2 separate regions of the Homo sapiens genome follow, and region 1 is linked to region 2. Evidence: promoter capture Hi-C in 16 types of primary human blood cells and fetal thymus (Javierre and others, 2016). All regions are on one chromosome and are shown on one strand. The core of a region is centred on a gene start or on the middle of the fragment in contact, and the rest is flanking DNA. Distances in the headings are between cores, read along the strand shown.

Region 1 (6,330 bases), core at 3,831-6,330, 4.8 Mb after region 2:
AAAAATTCCCAGTGTAACCTAGAATCAGTGTGTCTCCATCAAGGTTGACTAAAATTAGACTCATCTTTGGTCCCATAATCCTTCCTGCCTTTACACAAATCTCTGTATAAACTTTATTTTTTATCCTAATAAATGATCTATATCTCTGAAATATTGTGAGAGTGGAACAGATTTTAAGGAAAATAATCAGGTCATATTTTTCTGGAAATTAGAAATTATACTGCTTAGTTCTCTTGTCCTTAGTACATCAACACTAAATATAATGAGGACTGAAACATCTTGGCCCCCCCACAGTAGTTAAAGGATGAATAAAATTTGTGCATAGTTTGTTATATAATCCAAGGAGAGCAAAAATATAAAAAGTATTTTATGGCTTTTATCCTAAATTAGTTATATCTTAAATGTAAACATGTTTAAGTATTTCACAGATATTCTGAAAGGATAAGCCAAAAATAGATTAGGACACAGTAACCCATAGGGGTCAGTATAAACTTAGAATTGGAAGAGACCATATTCTGATTAAAGACATGCTTTTATCTGTTAAGACACACATTGATAGTTTTGGAAAATAATTCAAAACTAAGATACAGTGTCAAATGTACAAAAACTCTCTTCAATTATGGTCTTAATGTTAAAACAGCAAATGAACAATATTCTTTCCACACAGATTTTCTTATTTTGCTGAAATCTAAGCCTATAATTCCATAACAAGCAGATATGTTTATACCAGTGAAATAGATGTCTACAAAAATAAGTTTATTTCAGGCAGAACATACATAAATTCAGGAAAAAAGGAAATATTCACTGTGTAAATAATAAAGTGGATAGCAAATTCAAATATGTGTCTAATATTTAATGTACTATTTTATAATCATTGAGAAGGGAGTGACTTCTTGAAAAAGTGTAAATGACATTTCTAAAACATTTCACTTTTCAAGGGCAGATGTATTGACCTTGATAAAATAATGAAATTATATACTGAAGAAATTCTTCACATTCATTCACCCAAAACGTTATTTATTTGTGCTACAGAAAGGAATCAACTAGTTCGATTTGGCACTCATCAGATTTTTGAATTCTTATTAAACATGTTATTAAGGCAACGTCTAAATCAGCACCTTCCAATAGAAATGAAATGTGAATCACATTTGTAATTTAAAATTTTTTGTAGATGTATTAAAAGAAACGGATGAAATTAATTTTAAAGATGCATTTAATTGAACTCTATATCCAAAATATTTCAATGACATTAATATAAAAATTCTTAATAGAATGTTTTACATTATTTTTCATATAAGTCTTCAGAATCTGGTTGTGTTATATAATTAAGAGCACATCTCCATTTGGACCAGCATATTTCAAATGTCCAGTAGTCCCTATATTGGACAATGCAGGTCTGTAAGCTGAAGGAGAAAGTCGAGGCAATTATCCAGGTGATACAAGCTAAACAAGGAAGCAATCATATTTTTCTTTGTATAAGTTATTTAGATATTTCAGATAAAGTGGTTTTAAGCCTGTGCATTTGCTTTAGGTATTGAACCTAAATTGATTTCTTATATAAAAATCAGATATGAGAGATTTGTAAGAAGGATAAATGTTATATTCTGATAATCATTTAGGCTATCAAAGTACTATACTATATGATACTATATGAAATTTGCCAGATTTGACTTTATTTTCCAGTAATCCATATATTCCATTATGTTATTTTAGCCAATTTATCCTGATTTCTTTTTTATTCACCTGAATTTCTATGGCCTTAGCTGCTTTCTTTCCTCCAGAATTAATTGTAAGAATAGAATGATATCCAGAGGCCCTGACATTTTAAGTGGCCTGATCTCAAGCGACTTCAGACAGTGATTTTTTCTTCTTACCCAATTCTCTACACCTCACTCCACTGACTGTATTGTCCATTATTGCGTAAAACACTTTGGCAAATTCATACCTAAAGCTCTTTCTACTGAGTGATTAAGAACTTTGGGTACTTTTTCCTCACAGTTTTTACCCTGTTGAAGATTTGCTTTAACTTCAAAAGTGATGACAAGAAAGTATGGACACCCCTTCAGGACCAACCTGATAAGTCACTGGTAAGGTCTTAATTTCTCCATAAAGCTTCCTAATATTTTCTAGTATTAAGGTCTTCATATCCCGTAACCCGCTTTGCATCACCTGCAGAAATCCTAGGCTTAGCTGTTTGGTAGCATCTGGCTGTGTCATTTGTTCTATTATTTTTCGCAGGCTCCCACCTAGAGTCCTGTTATAGTGAAGGCTGGCTTCCACTAGTTTCCATTATTGCTTATGGGTCTGTCCCTTTCCTCCAGAAAAGTCCTATCTTTTTAAAGATGTAATGTCAGATGAAGCTTATGAGCCAACCACAGGCCATTTTTTTAATCGACATCTCCTGAAGGAAATTTTCTGCCTTAGCTGGCCTGACTTACTTGTATTTTGTGGCAGAATCCAGTCTTTCTAGGAATCATCCAGTTTTAAAAATCATCTCAGTGGTTGTAGAGCTGACAGCAGAATTCTCTCTACCTATTTTCTCCGCCATGGAGAAAGCATTCCCAGCATCATTTATACAAATGCTATGCACATTTCCACTTCCCAGCAATACTCATCCAGCAGTTTAGATGCCATGGGAGGGTACTCCATAGTTCAGTTCTATGGTATGCTTTGATACGGGCATGGCTGGACACTGCACATTGTTCAGCAATTCCAAATGGTAGTCTTTAGTAAGAGAAAAAACATAATTAGAGTCACTTAACATATTATGTGGCAGCGGGGGGTGGGGAAATATCCTTTAAGAAGTAGCTTTCACATACAAATGGAGTCCAAAATAGTGAACTTTTCCCATTGGATATTTATATGAATACAACCATGGATTAAATGCCAATAGGAGAAAGTGTTTTAGAGACATGCTTAAAATCTGGAGAAAGAAAACAAAAAACAAAAAAAACTCCTGCAGCCAGCTCAGTGTCTGCCCAAACAGCCACCCAGTTTTGTGCTTGAAACCCAGGGCCCTGGTGGCGTAGGCACTGGAGGGAATCTCCTGGTCAGTGGGTTGTGAAGACCGTGGGAAAAGCATAGTATCTGGGCTAGAATGCACCATTCTTCATGGCACAGTCCCTCACGGCTTCCCTTGGCTACCAGAGGGAGTTCCTCGACCCCTTGCACTTCCCGGGTGAGGTGATGCCCCACCCTGCTTCTGCTTGCCCTTCGTGGCTGCACCCACTGTCTAATCAGTCCCGATGAGATGAGCTGGGTACCTCAGTTGGAAATGGAGAAATCACCCACCTTCTACATTGAACTTGCTGAATGCTGCAGAGAGCTGTTCCTATTGGGCCATCTTGACTAATTGCAAGAATATTTTTAAGAGCCTTTCCAGGGCTTCTTGCTTTCTCTAGGCAGACTCTCAGAAGCTCTGTCCCAGACACATTAAAGCAGTAATAAGCAACTTAATATCTTAATCCTGCCCTGAGAAAGGTACTTCATACTTTATAGAGTTTTGAGGCACTAAGAATCAACAAAGGGGAAAAAAGTTCCTTATCCTAATTGAGTGGCCTAGGAAACAACATGTAGTATTATGACTATGTGTTTTAATTCTGTCAATTAGAACTCAAAATTTTCTTTTTAGTCAGATCAGTTCTATAGTTTTGATAAATATCACAAAACAGAAATGAGAGTACAATGCATTTACTCATGGGTGCTTAGACATCAGAAGTCTCATTATTTTCTTTGCCCTCTTTCCTAGCTGTTAATATAATGCTAAGATTAAGTTGACACATTGACTAGACTGTGATCTCTCTTTGCCCTCTGCTTTATTTAAAGATTTTCCTTTGGCGAGCAGTTATATATCAGGCACTCCCCAAACCCAACATCAGAGACACTCAAAATTGCCGTGAATATTCTAGTAGCAATCTCAAAAGTTTTAAGTTCTTTTGTATATAGATAGACTTGACACATTCTCTCAAAGCATATACTGTTTCTGGCTTTTCACTGTCTACAATGCCAGTGCCGGTATTGACTGTAAGAGCTTCCCATGGCATGAATAAACAGTGAAAAGGTCCAACAGAGCTTAAAGGTATATAGAAAAAATAATAGAAAGTTAAAAAAAGATTAAAGAAAACAATGAGTATATTTGTAGAAATAAGTGAGGTTAGTTCTATTTGATTTGTAGTGGCAACCATAGTCAATTTTTTTTTTTTTTTCTTGAGAGGGAGTCTCGCTCTGTCACCCAGGCTGGAGTACAGTGGTGCAATCTTGGCTCACTGCAAGCTCCGCCTCACAAGTTCATGTCATTCTCCTGCCTCAGCCTCCTGAGTAGCTGGGACTACAGGCGCCCGCCACCACGCCCGGCTAGTTTTTTGTATTTTTAGTAGAGACGGGGTTTCACCGTGTTAGCTGGGATGGTCTTGATCTCCTGACCTCATGATACACCCGCCTCGGCCTCCCAAAGTGCTGGGATTACAGGCTTGAGCCACCATGCCCGGCCTATAGTCAAATTTTTTAATAAAATTGCTAACCTACACTTAGTATATCCAATAACGAATGCACTATTTTGATTTTCAATTCTGATTTTATGCATGTTTGAGTAATCGATGCATACATATGTAATATTTTAATGTTAGTAATGATAAAGAACAACTACAATTTATTTAAATAATGCTTCAGGTACTTTTTCTATTCAAGTTATTTACTTAATCCAAAGGGAATAAATTTTTTGAAAATGTAGTAATAGTGATCCTGGAAAAATGTCATGTTCTATTTATATGCCTACAGTATTTACTCCATTTCTATCTCTTCCCTTTGATCTGTTTGATGGCTATGCCTGCCTTATATTTCTAAGAATTTTTTTTCAAACAATTTTTAGTGGGTTGTGGTGTTCATCTCCGTTTCTTACTGTACAAATACTTTTCTGTTAAATTTAAAGGTTACTCTCTAAAGCTTAGTAGGTGTGCTTTCATTTTCACACTGATAACTAAAATCCACATCATTACTAATCATAGACATGCATATGTGTTGATTATAAAGTGATATTGTACATACCACAAAATCAGAGATACAAAAATAATCTTTTGTTCTTTTTAAAAAACTTAATGTAGAAATATCATAAAATGAAGTTAAATTGAGTAAATCTTAAGACATCACTTAGTCAAGCTCCTTGCATCAAATCAAGCCCATGATTATATAAGTGTATAGAAAAGCCCACAAAAAATTAAAAAGAAAGCTTTTCAGTGGAAAACCTGACAGACACCTTATCCAAAAGATCAAAGTTTTAACATCACCAGTAATAGAACAAATAGGTTTCATGTGTCTTCTGATGTAATGCACTAAGGAGTGAGCACTATCACTCCTGAGGCATTTTTGCCAAAAACATATAAACGGGAATAAATCATGAAGAAATATCAGACAAACCCAAATTAAGGGACATTATGCAACATAAATGGCCTGTACTTTTCAAAATGTCTAGGTCATGAAAGAAAAGGACTAAGAAACTGCCCAGATTAAAGGAAACCAGAGACTTGACAACTAAATGCCACATGTAATCATGGATTAGATACTGGAGCAGAAATAACAATACTAATAAATAATTACTGTTACTGCTGTAAAGAACATTATTGAGACAATTAGCAAAATTTGAATGGGGCTTGTGAATTACAAAGCAGTATCATATCAAAACTGATTTTCTGTTTTTGATTGTTATAATGTGGTTATGTAGAAAAGTATTATATTTTTGAAAATGTACATTGTAGTATATGGGAGTAAAAAGGATCATGTTGGAAATTTATTCTCAAACGGTTTACAAAACAGTATGTATGTGTGTGTGTGTTTGTGTGTGTACATACACACACATTGTGTAAAGTAAACAAGATAAAATTTTAATATTTGGTGAATAGAGGTGAAAGATATATAGTAAATTTTGTACAGTGTTTGCAACTTTTCTGAAGTCAGAAATTAGTTCAAATTTTTTTTAAATATTGCTTTGGCTTCCTATTTTACCTGTAGTTAACTGTGTCAAAAATATGCTAATTATGTTATCAACACCCAGGGTTTTTGTAATCTCGCAATATTGAAATCAAGAGACATCACAGAACACAGCAGCAAAGGTAAGTTTTGTTTTTTTTTTTTGAGGCGGAGTCTCGCGGTAGCCCAGGCTGGAATGCAGTGGCGCGATCTCGGCTCACTGCAGGCTCCGCCCCTCTGGGGTTCACGCCATTCTCCTGCCTCAGCCTCGCGAGTAGCTGGGACTACAGGCGCCCGCCACCTCGCCTGGCTAATTTTTTGTATTTTTGGTAGAGACGGGGTTTCACCGTGTTAGCCAGGATGGTCTTG
Region 2 (5,976 bases), core at 3,367-5,866:
TAAGTCTCACAACATCTGTGTTTATAAATGGGAGTTCCCCAGCGCAAGCTCTCTTGCCTGCCACCATTTAAGACGTGACTTTGCTCCTCATTCACCTTGTGCCATGATTATGAGGCTTCCCCAGCCATGTGGAACTGTGAGTCAACTAAACCACTTTCCTTTATAAATTACCTGGTCTCAGGTATGTCTTTATTAGCAGTGTGAGAACAGACTTATACAACTACCAAAGGCACAAAAAATGTGAAAAAAAATTGGTAAGTTTGATTCTATTAAAATTTAAACTTCTGTTCTGCAAAAGATACTGCCAAGAGAATGAGAAGACCAGCCACAGACTGGGAGAAAATACTTGCAAAAGACATATCTGATAAAGGACTATTATCCAAAATGTACAAAGAACTCTTAAAACTCAACAATGAGAAAACAAACGACCTCATTTTAAAATGGGGTTTTAACAGAAATGAACAGACACCTCAACAAAGAAGATGGACAGATGGCAAATAAGCATACAGAAAGATACCAACATCATAAATCATTAGGGAATTGCAAATTCAAACAATGAAATACTGCTATACGCCTATTAGAACAGCCAAAATTCAAAACACTACAACTGAAATCCAAAACACTAACAACACAAAATGCTGGCAAGGATGTGGAACAATATGAACTCATTTGTTGCTGGTGGAAATGCAAAATAGTATAGACACTTTGGAAGACATTTTGGCAGTTTCTTGCAAAACTGAACACACTCTCGCTGTATGATTCAGCAATTGTGGTCCTTGGTATTTTTTTTCTTTTTTTTTCAGAGATGGGGTCTCACTCTGTCACCGAGGCAGGAATCCAGTGGTGTGATCTCAGCTCACTGCAACCTCAACCTCCCGGGCTCAAGCAATCCTCCCACCTCAGCCTCCCAAGTAGCTGGGACCACAGGCACATGCCACCATGCCCAGCTAATTTTTTGTATTTTTGGTAGAGTCAGGTTTTCACCATGTTGCCCAGGCTGGTCTCAAATTCCTGAGCTCAAGCGCTCAGTCTGCTTTGGCCTCCCAAAGTGCTGGGATTATAGGAGTCAGCCATGCCTGGCCTTCTCCTTGGTACTTATCCAAATAAGTTGAAAACCTATATCTACACAAAACCTGCACATTGATATTTATAGCAGTTTTATTTATAATTGCTAAAACTTGGAAGCCACCAAGTTGTCCTTCAGTAGGTGAACAGATAAATTCTGTGGTACATCAGCAATGGAATGTGGTACATCCAGCAATGGGATATTATTCAGCACTAAAAAGAAATGAGGTATGAAATCATGAAAAGACATGGACAAGCTTAAATGCATATTAGTAAGTGACATAAGGCAATAAGAAAAGGCTACATACTGTGTGATTCCAACTGTGTAACATTCTGGAAAAGGTAAAACTATGGAGACAGTAAAAGTAGCAGTGGTCGTAAGGATTAAGATAATGTAAAGCATTTTGTAAACTGAAAAGTAAATGAAATACCATCCCCATAGTGTTTTGGGCTTAAGAGTCTGAGGCTGGATAACTCTTTCTGTATTTTCCTGTGCTTCATAAAATTTTGGGGTGGAAGGTTAAATGGTATTTAAGAAATCCAAACATTATATTCAGAACCCCTAAGTTCCTAAATGTGCCACATTTACTGCTTTTTTGAAATGACAAAAGAAGAAAATCTTTAGAAGAGAGAGAACTCCATAAACTTAAGATTCCAAGTATGTCCAGAGCAAGACATCCAGTGTGGCTTTCCTGTTATTCCAGAATTGTGGCTGAGAACAAAAGGCACTGAGTCCACCTCCTTCTAAGAACAGTGAAGCAGCCTGAAGTTGACAGCAACCACCAGATGCAAAGCAGGTTCACTGTGCACTGGTTACCGGTTCAGCCCACTGCATTTTGGACTGCACTTTTCCTATATCCAGTGTCCAGTGACGCAGAACACTCACACACAAGTTACACGAAGTGGGTTTATTACTTACAGACAGGCAGCAAGGGACAACAGAAGCATGTCATAATGACCATATCTCCCAAGGCCGAGGAAAACTTCTTAGGGAGGATGGCGTCTCATCTGCTCGTGCACTGCTTGCACCGCAACTAAGGGACCCCAGAAAGCAGTCTGCTCTCAGTTTTTACTACAGGGCAATGGGATGTGCTGGGCTAGTACTAGTTGAAGGACATCCTATTTCTAGAAGAGACTGGAACAGAGCCTGGGCTGTTCTGGTCAGTTCCTCCTTGTCTATAGTATATTGCATTCCAACACATTCTACAGTTATTCTCGAGAACTACAAGTGAGAAAAGGGGAAGAACTGTGTTGGTTCAAGGCCCCCAGAGAACTGTTCTGTATGAGACCCTCCATCCCTAGCCTACTGACAGCTGACAGAGAAGAAAAGTGGGTACCGCCGCCCCACCACTCTTTAGGAGGCTGAACATCCTGGGAGCTAGGGGACCTGCTACTAGGAGGAAACTCTAGGAGGAAAGCAAGCAAATGTCTGGGGAGAGACGCCAGGATCTGCATGTGAGTGTGTCAGATGGACATGTGGCTAGAATCCTTTTGCTTAAGTTTGCAATTCAAAGAAATACAGGGGCCGGACGCAGTGGCTCACGCCTGTAATCCCAGCACTTTGGGAGGCCAAGGCGGGCGGATCACCTGAGGTCAGGAGTTCAAGACCAACATGGTGAAACCCCGCCTCTACTAAAAACACACAAAAAATTAGCCGGGCGTAGTGGCGGGCACCTGTAGTCCCAGCTATTCGGGAGGCTGAGGCAGGAGAACGGCGTGAACCCGGGAGGCGGAGCCTGCAGTGAGCTGAGATCGCACCACTGCCCTCCAGCCTGGGCGACTGAGCGAGACTCCGTTTCAAAAAAAAAGGAAAAAAGAAATACAGAAGATAGAGCCTGTTTGTGCCTGCACACCTGAGAGCAGGCCACGGGAACATGAGATTGATGTCTTTAATCTTGTCAGAACGGATAGACATTGGGGCAAAGAAATGAGTACGGTAGAGAAATGTGGCAACATAGTCGGCATGGGGGGTGGGGTGGGGTCTGCAGAATACGTGGCCAAATCTCAATGGGACACTGGTGTCTAGGGAGCTTCCTTAACAAGCATCATGTAGCTGCATAAACTACAGCAATGGGCAGTGAGGAAGAAGACTGTAGGCTTCCCTGATCATGGCCTTTCGCCTCTCCTTCTTTGTCCATCATCAGAGGAGCTACCGCAGAGGAGACCTGGAGAGAAAGAAGTGTGTGAAGGGTGTGCCTGGTGCCCAGCCCTCAGTTCTTCAGGCTGCACTGCCAAAGGGAGGAAAATTGCACTGCGAAAGGGAGATGGACATGAGATTCAACTTTTAAAGTAAAGTTAAATGAGTCTTAGAAACCAAAATGAGACTAGTTGAAAAAGTGACAATGTTAGAAAAATTAAGTCACATAGCCAAGACGTGAACAGATGTTTCCCAGGGGGAAAAAGAGGCTTTAGCGAACAAAGAATAGGTAGGTATTACAAAAACGCAACTGTTTACACACACACACGTGTGTAAATATGTGTGTATACGTGTGTATGTGTACAGTTGCATTTTTGTAATACCTCCCTAATCTTTATATATATACTTATATAAATATAAATGCAAATAATATAAATATTATTGTTGCACACACACATATATATGATGATAGAGGATGTAGCATGTAGGATAAACCTTGAGAAATGGGTTGGAATGTCGGCAATACCAAGTCGGGAATCAGGAATTCAGGAGAAGAGCTTGAACAAAAAGGGCAAAGACAGTACAGACTTACCGCGGGGAAGTACAAAACCATTCTAGAGGACCACGTCGAAGTCCACATGGACAGAAACATTAGGGTGTTAAAGGGGATGATAAGGCTTGGATGGGCAGTTTGCTTCAAATAGTGGCGGTCATTGAAGTCAGGCACAATTTCTATTTTTTTTCCCCACTGTAAACCTAACCCACGGCGGTTGGTCAAAGTCTTGCCGAATAAAAAAAAAAAAAAAAAAAAAGAATTAAGTGACTGGACTGCCAAGCTGTAGAGCCTCTATTAAGCAATGTACAGCCAGGAAAGGATACCTTAGATGAGAATGACATGGGTAGAGGGGTGTTTCAGGAACATGGCTAAAGAGCCTCGCTCCCAGCCTCAGCCGGGAGGCTGAATAAAGGACAGTAGCAGGATCACTCCAGCCTTTGAGGACACTTTTGGAAACCCTGGTGGATTCCCAGCATCAACACTTACTGAGGGCTGCTTTCCATCCCTAGGTTCTTTCCGGCATTTGTAATTTCCAATCCACTTAGGACACTTCTACTCCTCAGAAACCGTTTCTGTCGGGGCCGTGAGAGGAGACAGTATAAGACTTCCTGGACCCAAGGGACGCCGGGTCCCCTGGAAGCGCCCATCGCATTGAAGACCACGTGTGCCTTGCTGGGGTCCCATTCAGACAAGTCCCGGGTCGTTCGCTCATCGCCCTCCACGCGACCAGGGGGCGCCCGCGGTATCGGCCCGGCTAGTTCGCAGGCGTGCGCCTTCCCTCACTGCGCCGGAACGGGCCACGTTCTCGGACCCAGAAGCCGCGTCAGAATTCCACGCTGGCCAATCGGAACTGTCCATGTACTACTGGGGGCGGGGCTGCCAAGGGAGGAGGAAGATGGCGGCGGGGGCGAGGTGAGGTGTTGGCAGTGGAAAGGGGTTCGGGCTCGGGGGGCGGGGGGACGCGGAGCGATGGCCCGCGCCGGCCGCAGGGGCGGATAAAAAGCCGTCGCGCTGCGGGAGTGGGCGGGAGGGAGAGGGGGTGTCTGAGGGCCACAAGAGTATGACGGGGCTGTACGAGCTGGTGTGGCGGGTGCTGCACGCGCTGCTCTGTCTGCACCGCACGCTCACCTCCTGGCTCCGCGTTCGGTTCGGCACCTGGAACTGGATCTGGCGGCGCTGCTGCCGCGCCGCCTCTGCCGCGGTCCTAGCGCCGCTCGGCTTCACGCTCCGCAAGCCCCCGGCAGTCGGCAGGAACCGCCGTCACCACCGGCACCCGCGCGGGGGGTCGTGCCTGGCAGCCGCACACCACCGGATGCGCTGGCGCGCGGACGGTCGTTCCTTGGAGAAGCTGCCTGTGCATATGGGCCTGGTGATCACCGAGGTGGAGCAGGAACCCAGCTTCTCGGACATCGCGAGCCTCGTGGTGTGGTGTATGGCCGTGGGCATCTCCTACATTAGCGTCTACGACCACCAAGGTGAGGCCCGGTGCGGTGGTGGGGGGTGGCCGAGGCGTCTTGGACCGCTAGACCGCTGGTCTGGCGGGTGGTGCCCATGGCACGAGTTGCCGCGGCCTCTCTGCAAATCACAGCGCTAGCGCTTTCGAGGAAGGGAGATCAGCTTTATTGAACACCTACTAATTCTCTGGATTTGACTCAGTAGCTTTTTAACATTTTAAAAATATCCCTTGGCCGGGCGCGGTGGCTCATGCCTGTAATCCCAGCACTTTGGGAGGCCGAGGCGGACGGATCACCTGAGGTCGGGAGTTCGAGACCAGCCTGACTAACATGGAGAAACCCCGTTTCTACTAAAAATACAAGTTTAGTCGGGCGTGGTGGCATATGCCTGTAATCCCAGCTACTAGGGAGGCTGAGGCAGGAGAATCGCTGGAACCCGGGAGGCGGAGGTTGTGGTGAGCCGAGATCGCGCCACTGCACTCCAGCCTGGGCAACAAGAGCGAAACTCTGTCTCAAATAAGTAAATAAATAAATAAAAATAAATAAAAAATCTCTTATTCGTTATAATACTGCAGTAATGTAGATGGTATTTGTATACCCTTGCCAAGGTTTAAAAACATTAACTGATTTGCCCAAGGCCACAAGATCGTAATGGGGCCACAAAGATCGGAATGAGGATATTGGAATTTTAGCCATTCTGTGCTTTTTCACAATCTTTGCCTTTGGTTACACCACACTGTTTCTTTAAGAGAGCTTCCAGGCGC

Evidence for each region. Contacts are between HindIII fragments. The CHiCAGO score rates a contact against its expected background, and 5 or more counts as called.
Region 1: a fragment that was not itself captured here is called in contact with the fragment with the promoter of NUS1 in region 2 in 1 of 17 cell types (total B cells); the score reaches 6.1 in total B cells.

The regions. Positions count from the first base shown.
Region 1 is chr6:122,475,853-122,482,182 of GRCh38, forward strand. It overlaps a transcript of PKIB not described here. Among named protein-coding and RNA genes, the nearest start is that of SERINC1, 7.2 kb to the left of the region's middle. The HindIII fragment of the contact is 283 bases long and covers 4,940-5,222 here.
Region 2 is chr6:117,670,853-117,676,828 of GRCh38, forward strand. It overlaps NUS1 (NUS1 dehydrodolichyl diphosphate synthase subunit), which reads left to right and starts at 4,617. Exons shown (of 5, transcript NM_138459.5): 1 at 4,617-5,233. The coding sequence starts at 4,819. It overlaps LOC101927919 (a long non-coding RNA gene), which reads right to left and starts at 4,432. Exons shown (of 3, transcript NR_110854.1): 1 at 4,245-4,432; 2 at 3,795-3,983; 3 at 1,961-3,230. The HindIII fragment of the contact is 6,476 bases long and covers 1,321-5,976 here.